Linked DNA regions of Homo sapiens: regions 2, 3 and 4 are each linked to region 1. Evidence: promoter capture Hi-C in 16 types of primary human blood cells and fetal thymus (Javierre and others, 2016). All regions are on one chromosome and are shown on one strand. The core of a region is centred on a gene start or on the middle of the fragment in contact, and the rest is flanking DNA. Distances in the headings are between cores, read along the strand shown.

Region 1 (2,572 bases), core at 22-2,521:
GTGGCAGAAAAGATCCTCAGGATGCCACCCACATCTCAAAGTCCAACAACCATCTCATCTCCCATACTGTGATCCTTTGATAATAAAGTCAATTACATACAACATTTCACCATAGGTCTTTCATAGAACTTAGAACACCTAGCATATAATTTAGTCCTGAGCTAGGTGAAGAAGCAAGAAATGTTTTACTCTAAAGCAATTTTTATGACGCTATCACTTTTCAAGGAACCCCCAACAGTAGTAATAACACCAGTATTGTATTCTTGCTTTTTCGCGTTGTTCAGATTGAAATAATCCCATTCACTTTAATGTTCAGGCTCCATAGGTGAATTGAATTTAATTTCTATAAATTGGTAATGTTGCCGTTGTCCTTATATTTTCAGGCACAATCCAGGCCTTATATTTTCAGGCACCCGTTTGACAGTTAGCCTCTAGGGATTAAACAATACTCAAACAAGTTTTTCATATACTACTTTAAACAATTCTTCCCCTTCCCTTAATCCGTGTGTGTGTGTGTGTGTGTGTGTGTGTGTGTGTGTGTGTGTGTATGTTCCCTTAGTTCTTCAATTGCTGAAGTTGTAGCTGCCGAAATTATCTTCCATAGGTGAGGTCTTTTACCACCAGACGTGGGTCACACATTGTAGATGGCCACATCACCTGGCGCAGGTGGTCCAGCTTTGGTCGCCATTCATAGAGGGAAGGGTTCCCAAAAGGCACCCAAGAAGAGATGAAGTTTGTTAAACCAAAGCTTATAGGTCCAGAAGGCAGTCGGACAACTGGTCATTTCCAGGGATGAACAGAGAGGGCGCCCTTCCCCAGAGGCACAAATGGCCAGGACGCAGGGGTGGGACAAGCCAGTAGGAAGCCCGCGGGGCTCTCACAGCGCAACCTGGTTGGACTTAAGGACCCTGGACAACAAACGTCAGGAGAGCTAGGAGGCTGGCTCTTCTGCGGGAGGTTATAGAGCGGATCACCTGGGCGCAATCGCCGCGTAGTTGAAGTTTCCCTAAAGTCTCAGTGGGGCTTTTCCTCCCGTGAGAAGCCCCATTCCTGAGTATCTAGTCCCGGAGGCTCCGCACTGCTTCCCCACGCCCCCTCTTTCTTCGCCCCAGCTCTGGGCGATCTCACTGCCGGGCACAGGGCCGCCTTTGCCTGCCTGCCCTGCAGCAGCAGGCCCGGGCGGCTGCGAGAGGGCGCAGGGGGCGGAGGCGCGGCAGGGGCGGGCTCTGCCGCCCGCCCCACCACCCGCTCCCCGCCCGGCTGCGGGGCCAGTGGCAGGAGCGCCGCGCACCGCCAGCCGCAGGGGGCGTGGGATGGGGGCGGCCGGGGAGGGGGGCGCCCACACTGACTAGAGCCAACCGCGCACTTCAAAAGGGTGTCGGTGCCGCGCTCCCCTCCCGCGGCCCGGGAACTTCAAAGCGGGCCGTGCTGCCCCGGCTGCCTCGCTCTGCTCTGGGGCCTCGCAGCCCCGGCGCGGCCGCCTGGTGGCGATGACCCGGGCGCTCTGCTCAGCGCTCCGCCAGGCTCTCCTGCTGCTCGCAGCGGCCGCCGAGCTCTCGCCAGGTACGGTGCTGGTTTCTCTCCCGACGCCCGCGAGGGTGGGAGCTGGGAGGAGGTCTGCGGGTGAGCACGGGGGTGGGGGACAGGGGGTGCTCCGAGCAAACTGACCTTCGGGGCGGACAGGGAAGCGCCAGTCGGATTGAGGGGGCGCGGGATAGGGTGCAGCGTGGGCACCTGACGTCTGGCAGCCGTAGGGGTAGACAGGTGTGTTGGGGACGAAGCCGCCCGGAAGAGGGAAAAGGCAGCAGGGACGTGGGGGAATAAGTAGTAGGGGTGAGGTGGGTGACTAATTTGTGGGCAGTTTGCAGCGGAGAAAATAGGAGAGCGTTTGTGGGTGCGCGCATGGCTGGGAGCTGGGTTCACCCTGCAGGGACCTGGAGGGCTGCAGGTATGCGTCGGACGCGCTCTGTGCTAAGCCCCTGAGAGCTGCTCAAGGATGGTGGCATGGTGGTGGTGGGAGGTGGTGATTTAGTCTGAGTTTTAGGAGGCGGGGAATACCCCAAAAGCCGCAGATGCCAAGCTATGGAGGCGAGAGTGGGAGCTTAAATCTGTGTGGTTTGCAACGCACATTGCTTTCGAGGTACGATCTTTACTCAGAGTTCCTGGGGAAAAAAATTCTGGCAAGCGCCCCAGAGTTTATAACAGGTCTGTGCCTTGATAGGCTAAATAGAGCCCTCTACCCAATCTAGAAGCCAGACGTTTCTTTATAATGTTTACTAGAAAGTGGGGCAAATGCATCTTTGGTAAAATCATAATATGCTGTGACTAAAAGCCCTTTACCTCGAAAACTATTTTCATTACATTGTCCTGGATTATGCAGAGGAGGAGCAGATTCTTTGCTAACTCATTCTTTAAAAATTTCTATCAGACATTGAAGACATTTGCACATAAAAATCTGGTGTTTTCCCATAGAGCTGTGTTTTGTCCGAAGCTGATTTTGATGCATTTTGTTTTCCCAGATGACAATCTGTTTGACATTAATAGCTATATTCATGGTGGGTCGTTTTCCTCT
Region 2 (2,572 bases), core at 43-2,542, 360 kb after region 1:
CTTCTATTCCTTTAGTTCCTATCTTAAATATTCCCTTCATAGAGATGCCGTCTCTGACAACGCTTTCACATTTTTTTTTTTTTTGAGACAGAGTCTGGGCTGGAGTGGAGTGGCGTGATCACTGCTCACTGCAGGCTCCGCCTCCCGGGTTCACGCCATTCTCCTACTTCAGCCTCCTGAGTAGCTGGGACTACAGGCACCTGCCACCACGCCTGGCTAATTTTTGTGTATTTTTAGTAGAGACGGGGTTTCACCATATTAGCCAGGATGGTCTCGATCTCCTGACCTTGTGATCCACCCGCCTCAGCCTCCCAAAGTGCTGGGTTTACAGGCGTGAGCCACTGCACCTGGCCTACCCTCTCAAAATTAACTATTCTTTTATTATTCTCTATTATTGTGTTTCTGTCACAGCATTCATCTATCAATCTTATTTCCTTATCTTCTGCATCCAAAATTTTCTGAGGGTAGGACAAATCTGCCTTGCTTACTACAGTACCACAAGCTTCCAGCACAGTTACACAATAAATATTTGATAAATATGTATTGAATGCATGAATGAATGGATGGAGATGAGATGGAACTTAAAGCTTAAATAGTGGAAGAAATATTTCCCTTTGAGATAGAAAGTACAAAAAGGTGGTAACGTATACAAATATATTTATGCACATGGGATGAGAAGTTGAAAATATTCATAGCTCATACTGGAGGAAGGGTTATCTGTTAATGTAATAGGCTAGGGGCTTGAGGAGAATGGAGAATATTTTGGACAGATACTATGGGCAATGGGAGAGAATGCTGGCCAGCTAGCTAGGATTTCAGAGGGGCAGTGAGCACTTTCCTGAAACTGGAGATGCCAAAATTTTATGAAATTTCAATATATGATTTGCTCCACCAGTGCCTGCCAGCCTGCGTGTAAGAAGAGATAAAGCAAATTGCTGGATTAATATGAGTCTAAGGGATATCAGAGCACATGAGGTAGAAAGAGAATGGGTAGTGAGGTTTGAGGGGACTGGTGTAAGGTGGTTGAATGTTCCGGCATGGGCTCTGGGTCAGGGAAAGAGGAAGTAAAGCTAAGGGGAGTTTAATAGCCTGAGTGAAAGGGAGGGTACAGAAGAAAACAGCTACAGCCTATGACTTCCTCATCTCTAACTTTATAATATAAATTAATGAGAAATTCACATTTCACAGTTACATTTTTTTTAATGGTATTTGGTGCTGAAAAAAAAATCAAATCAGTTCTGAAAAGAAAGGATCAATTACACAAATTCGGCATAAACCAACAAGCCCGGCTGTGAAGTCCTGAGAGTTGCTTTATGGTTAAAATTTGGTTGGTCTGAGAAACATCCAGTGACAAAAGGAATTGTATCAGGAGGAGTTAACTAAGCAGGCTCATGCAAATGACTCTTCCTATATTTTAAATTAGTAGAGTTTTTGTCCTTTTTAGAAGGAAGTTCTAAAAAGTGCTAGACAGTCTAAAATTGGAGGTAAGAAAAATTCTCAGAAATTTGAGAGATTTGGGGAAGACACCTCTAATCACCAAATATCTAATCCTCTATTCCCCCGATTATGTCATGGTGCCTTAATTTCACTATTAGTACCCTACATGGGCAGATCATGAGAGATTCCACTAGATGCTAATATCCCAGCAAATAAGTAGTACCTCTGCCAATTGTTGACAAATATATATCTTAGATGTGTTTAAAGAATTACAATGAAGAAATTCTGTGGAAGATTATATGGTACAGATCATATTAGTGCCTGGTAAAAGCAATATTACAGGATGGGAAAGAGGGACCCAAAAGAGATGCCTGAGATTTCCAATACAAAGTTTCAGGGTGTGCCTTGATTTGGGGTGACTGACATGTCAAGGCACTCTGACATTTACAGAGACCTGTTCTCCTGCATTACTAAACAGATTAAACATGTTTCCGGGTATCTAGCAAAACTAGTGTGCTTGTTTTGTTCAAAGGAACAGTGGGAAACCCCCGCAAAGCTTTCAGCATTTTAAACTCTTACTCTAGTCTTTCATACTGGAAGAAAGGTTACTTGCTAATGTAATAGGGTAGGGGCTTGAGGAGAATGGAGAATATTCTGGGCAGACACTATGTCATCTAGTTGGCATAGGTTGTAAAAACCATTTCAAGTTATCCTACACCAACCTAATTCAAGCAAGTTTCCTTTATTTCAGTTTTTCCTTAATTTCTGCCTATATCATGGGAGGAGAAATTGCTGCTAAAGTCTAATTTGAATGCCAGATATTTCTAGGTTTGTAACTTTTTTGAGGCTAAGAAATCACATTTATATTCTATATGCCTATTTATTATACAAATTAGGTATTTAGAGTCTACTGGTCCCATGCTATACTTAAAAAATTAATCCAATCTCTTTGTCTTGGGGGGGAATCTAGGCTTAGATTACTGCAGCCAATCCAAGTTCTAAAAACAAATGGGGCCTCTAATGTGGGGAGTTTCACTATCCTGCACTTAGCTGACATACTACTGTGGTGGACAGAAAGACTCTGGACTTGAGAAAGATGACAAGAGACTAAGTTTTTAGTTCATTCTAGCATTTA
Region 3 (2,500 bases), core at 1-2,500, 330 kb after region 1:
ACCTGTGTGATCTGGCTCCTTCCTTCCTCTTCACCTTCATCTGGTGCCATTCTTCCCTCCTTCACACCCTGACAACATTCGTCTTCTTTCCAGTGCTTGGATGGAGAACACTCACCTGTCTTAGGGCTTTACGTGACCTTTACCCTCTGCCTAGCACTCTTCTTTAGAGCTTGGCTGACTGACACTTAGTGTTTTAGGCCTGAGTTACAAAGTCTCCTTCTCAGAGAGGATTTCTCAGCCACTCTAACTGAGGAGTCATCAACTGTGGCCTGTTCCCTAAATGAGAGCTATTATATTTTGTATTTACACTTGACTTGCTTATTTGTTTATAATCTTTCTTCTCTACCCAAATTAAGCTCCACAAGGAAGGAACCAAGTCTACTTCATTCATCACCCTGTAATCCAAGTCTGAAATACTCCCAGATCTACGGATACTCAATAGATATCTGTTGAGTTAATCAATGAACATGACCACTTGGTAGCCTTCCTCAAGTTTACCTATATTTAATTCTCAGCCATGCTTTGTCCCATCTTTGCTCATACTTGGTGTTTATTTATAATGTAATTACTCATTCTTTCCACACATTTTTGAAAGAGATTTTGTGTTTTGTTTTTATGGAGTAAGATTTTAAATTGCCACTTGAACTTACCACACCACTAGCTCTCACAATGGGAGCCCTTAAGTCAGGAAAGACATTCTCCAAGTACCATTTGAAACTTTTGCACTTCAGTTTCTTTCGCAGCTCCCTTTGCTGGGTGAGGTTGCCAACATCTAGCCCTTGGTCGATGAGGTGGTCTCCGTGGCCATAGAACAGCTCCTTATACTCATCCAGCCAGACCTCGGCAACCCGCACCAAGTTCCGCTCCACTGTCTTCATCCGGTCTTTGGGGAAGGAATATGGATTGTCATTTCTGAATATATGGCCCACTCGGGAGCAGGGAATGATCTCAATTTCACCACCACACATCCACACCTGGAAGAATTTGATGATAAGCATCAATTATCAAATGATTATCCACAAATCATCGGCACTTAACAATGACAAGAAACCACCTTGTTTCCCCCTACCTGAAGTAATACTCAACTTCAAAAACACTTTTGCAATAGAAAATCAAACTCAACAGGCTTATTTAATTTTGTGTATTGCTGTGGATCATTTTAGGATTAGTAAAATGTAATTTTTTCTTTCCTAACTTTCAATGTAAGTTTTTTTTAATTTGTAAATAAATCTTCACAGAATCCCATTTTGTAAAACATGAGTTCTTGTTTTGATTGAATCAGGGAAAGAAGTATAGATGTCCATTTGTTCACGTTCCTCTACTCTCATTTTTGGGAAGAACCAAAAGGCTTGTGGAACACAACTCAAAACCATCCTTCATGATCAGCAGCTCCAAAATTACACCCTTTTACATACATACAGAACACCCACCCAATAGGAAAGCAATTACTTTTTGGACACTCTCTACTACTGCTGTTGCCAAGGCTTTCTCAGAAGTTAATCAATGATTGTATAATAGATTGTATAAAGTGCCCAAAGGAGCTGTACTATAAGGCACACCTGACCTGTTGGTGACCTGCTTTAGAGGTATTTTAATGTACTTCTGTCATTTGTGTTCTCTAAGATGATCCATTACAGATTGAGTCTATTCCTTCCAACATTCTAGACAGATGTTCCAGGAGAGTTATTTTGTAGCACGTATGACTCCCACAGCATTTACTCTGAGTGGCAGAAAGTCATTTCCCCCATATTTATAAGCAGAAATGGTGTTGTGAAATATTAGGGAATGCTAATAAATTTTATGACAGCAATTGATTCTTCCAAATTCAATCTGAGATATGAAAAAATTAATCCAGAGACCCTAAAATTTCTGTGAAATTTCCTCTCAGTGGCAGTCACATACCTGATTATGGTAGTAAAATCAAACCATTTAAAATTGATTAACTCATTATCGTAAAGAAAAGTTGGGAAACACCTGGTAATACCTTGAATGAGAGCTCCATATTTTCCCCACCCCAAACATCAAGGCCAGGGTCGTATGTTCCAAGTTCAAAAAAGTAACTTTTGTCAATAGAAAACAATCCACCAGCCATGACAGGGCACCTACAAAAAGAAAAGTTTGTTTTTTAAACTTGCATCTCATGAAAGCTCGACTTTTAGAGTTGTTCCTCTGTACATCTGTACGGGAGGTAGGAGGCTTTTCAGAATAGCTACCTGATGCAGGGAAGCCCTGGGATGGAGTCACAAATAGGGCTTAAGTGATGCGATCCCTGGATCATGGTGGCAGAGCTAGATTAGGTTCAGCAAAGATGCATCCTGGAACTAGTATTATTTGTCCTTTATACTGTGACACAAACTGTCCAGGAATGTTATTTTTAACACTTATTCAGGGCTAAGGGAGTATCAGGCACTATTGTAAGTATTATATATATATTCCAGCCCAGACTTCACAAAAAATCTTGTGTGTGCAATTATTAAGAATCTGCAACACTGGATGTGAG
Region 4 (2,572 bases), core at 39-2,538, 280 kb after region 1:
CGGACACTTAGAAGCCAGTGTAGGGTTAATTGGCTGAATTTTGGTACCATTGTGTCTTGGGGAATTGTGGATGCCCAAGGATATGTTGTGGGGAGGGGAGAAATGGCCAGCCAGTGGAGTAGTTAGAATACATACAACATTTATCAATTAACTTCACCGTCTTATACAACATTATCAATTAAGTTCACCGCCTGCTCCTCCGTCAGTGGAGCAGTTAGAATACACACAACATTTATCAATTAAGTTCACTGTCGTATACAGGTACAGTTTGTTTGTGGCACCCCAAAACAATTACAATAGTAACATCAAAGATCAGTGATTGTCCAAGTGTGGTGGTGCATACCCTGTGGTCCTAGTTACTCTGGAAGCTGAGGCAGGAGGATCATTTGAGCCCAGGCGGTTGAGGCTGCAGTGAGCTGTGATTGTGCAACTGCACTTCAGCCTGGGTGAGAGAGTGAGACCCTGTCTCAAGTTTTCAAAAAAAAAAAAAGCAAACAAACAGTCAAAAAAGATCACTGATCACCATAACGGATATAATAATAATGAAAAACTTTGAAATATTGCAAGAAGTACCAAAGTATGACACAGAGGCAAGATATGAAGTGAGAACAGTTGTTAAAGAGGTGCTGATAGACTCGCTCCATGCAGAATTTTCCCAAACCTTCAATTTCTAAGAAATATCTGCAAAGAGCAATACAATGAGGAACAATAAAACAAGGTACACCTGCATGAAGCAACAGCAGTAGCATTTGAACGTTGGAGTTGTTTTATCATCAAAAGCTGCCAGAGATGATATTTTACAGCTGTTAAGAGTCAAGTATCTGATTGGACAGATGAGGAAGAATAGTGGCTTCCTAGAGCAAGTGATAAGCTAATATTAAAGGCAAGTTAATATTTCTTTACTACTCTAAAGCTTTCTTAAGATTAGCTTTTTGAATAACACCATTGTGGAGCTGGTTGGTATAATAGAAACAAATGGATTTTCTCATCCTACAGAGTTGACTTTTAACCACACTCTGCCCTTCACTAGTTCCATGACCTTGAGCAACTTATTTAACTTTCTAATCTCAGGTTTCCTACTCCATATGATACAGTTAATAAGACCTATCTTATTGGGCTGCTTGGAGGATGATGAGAGAATTCATATATAAAGGGAAAATCAGGTTTTGGCTTTTCCCAGATTCCTTCTTGAGGGCAGATTAGATAGAAGACTGGTTGAATGTTTGAACCATCAGTTGGCAGTCAGCCAGCCTGATATTCAAAAGGTTCAAAATCTAGGCTCCAGTGGACAACCTAGCAAGCCAGACAAATGTTAGAATTTTGGATTCTAGCCAATTGTGTATGTATATGTATGTGCTTGTCAGTCATCTGTGTTACTTTTTAATTAAGGACTTTAACACCAAGAGTCAGAGATAAAGGAAAAGTATAGAACAGGTTGAGAGGATTACATAGATTTAGAGAAGATGCTAATCAAATGGAATTGGTGTGGGTTCTACAAACACAGCTTAAAGGGCAGAAAATTTTAAATCTAGTGTTAACTTGCCTACTTCTGCAGACTTTGGGTTCCTCTTTAGATACTGTAATGGTAAATAATGTTTCTCATGAATATTGGAATGCCTCACTCAAGAATTCTGGAAACATTTTGCGTACTGTATTAAGCTTAGGACTTTGAACAACTTTCTTTGTGATCAGAAGGTAAAGATATTATTTTCCCCTTCCTATTGGTTATATAGAATGTAAGCTCTTCAGACATTAAAATGTCAAGAACCAACAGGCAGAGAAAATGGATGTGGATAAGATCCCTGAAGAGAAATGTCAAAAGTCCTCATCTCATGACTATTTGTAAAGACTCTCTTTATAGGATGTGTGTTGTCATGGCATTGGAGAGCAGGGACTGAACTGGGAAAAAATTAAAGACAATTATAGTGTGGTAAAGGGACTTAGCATATATAAGCTATGGAGAAAAGTGCAATTCCTTTATCTGGTCTTGGACATCACACAGCCAGCTTACAAGATGCTGGCAGACATTATGGAAATGACAAATAGCTAAAGATTCTGTGATTCAGACTGGTCGCCACATTATCTGAGCTATAACTTCAGAGTTGAGAGGGAAATTGGGTGGAAATTGCTCTGGTAGTATTAACAGCTGGAGGTACTTTGAGAAGAGCAGGGGAGGCACACATATATCACCCACAAACATTTTTGACACACCTAAATGTCAATTCAGCACATTTGAATATTTACTTAAAAACACTTGTGCACTCAGCCTTCTAATAGATGCTGTAGAGCATATAAAGAAGGTAGATATTACCCCTAACCTAGAGGAAATAAAAGTCAGATATCAAATGCAAACTTTCTTTTTATTATTTACTAGGGAATCTTTTAAAACTTCTGTGTGAGAGGCTTCAAGAATCAGGCTTAGGAACCTGTAAAGCACAAATTTTTCAGAGACTTATTTTTTAATAATAATTAATAAAAATATAACTTCATTGATAATAGGCAAATAGATTAAAATGTGTATATTACATTATCGAATGTTTCCTCAGTCTTTCATATAATAACTTCATAATTT

Evidence for each region. The method cuts DNA at HindIII sites, captures the fragments that hold promoters and counts their contacts. A CHiCAGO score of 5 or more calls a contact.
Region 2: a contact is called between a fragment that was not itself captured here and the fragment with the promoter of ACVR1C in region 1, in 1 of 17 cell types (activated CD4 T cells). The highest score is 5.6, in activated CD4 T cells.
Region 3: a contact is called between a fragment that was not itself captured here and the fragment with the promoter of ACVR1C in region 1, in 11 of 17 cell types (activated CD4 T cells, naive CD4 T cells, total CD8 T cells and 8 more). The highest score is 12.5, in activated CD4 T cells.
Region 4: a contact is called between a fragment that was not itself captured here and the fragment with the promoter of ACVR1C in region 1, in 1 of 17 cell types (total CD8 T cells). The highest score is 5.4, in total CD8 T cells.

Annotation. Positions count from the first base shown.
Region 1 is chr2:157,627,563-157,630,134 of GRCh38, reverse strand. ACVR1C (activin A receptor type 1C) reads left to right here and starts at 1,271. Exons shown (of 9, transcript NM_145259.3): 1 at 1,271-1,563. The coding sequence starts at 1,491. RefSeq lists a silencer at 1,327-1,556. The HindIII fragment of the contact is 11,498 bases long and covers 751-2,572 here.
Region 2 is chr2:157,268,615-157,271,186 of GRCh38, reverse strand. All of the region lies in intron 1 of GALNT5 (polypeptide N-acetylgalactosaminyltransferase 5), which reads right to left. Among named protein-coding and RNA genes, the nearest start is that of GALNT5, 12 kb to the right of the region's middle. The HindIII fragment of the contact is 1,406 bases long and covers 590-1,995 here.
Region 3 is chr2:157,299,150-157,301,649 of GRCh38, reverse strand. GALNT5 (polypeptide N-acetylgalactosaminyltransferase 5) reads right to left here. Exons shown (of 10, transcript NM_014568.3): 6 at 1,985-2,102; 7 at 651-974. It also overlaps the pseudogene RN7SKP281. Among named protein-coding and RNA genes, the nearest start is that of ERMN, 25 kb to the left of the region's middle. The HindIII fragment of the contact is 4,525 bases long and covers 1-2,500 here.
Region 4 is chr2:157,349,798-157,352,369 of GRCh38, reverse strand. No RefSeq gene overlaps it. Among named protein-coding and RNA genes, the nearest start is that of ERMN, 25 kb to the right of the region's middle. The HindIII fragment of the contact is 746 bases long and covers 916-1,661 here.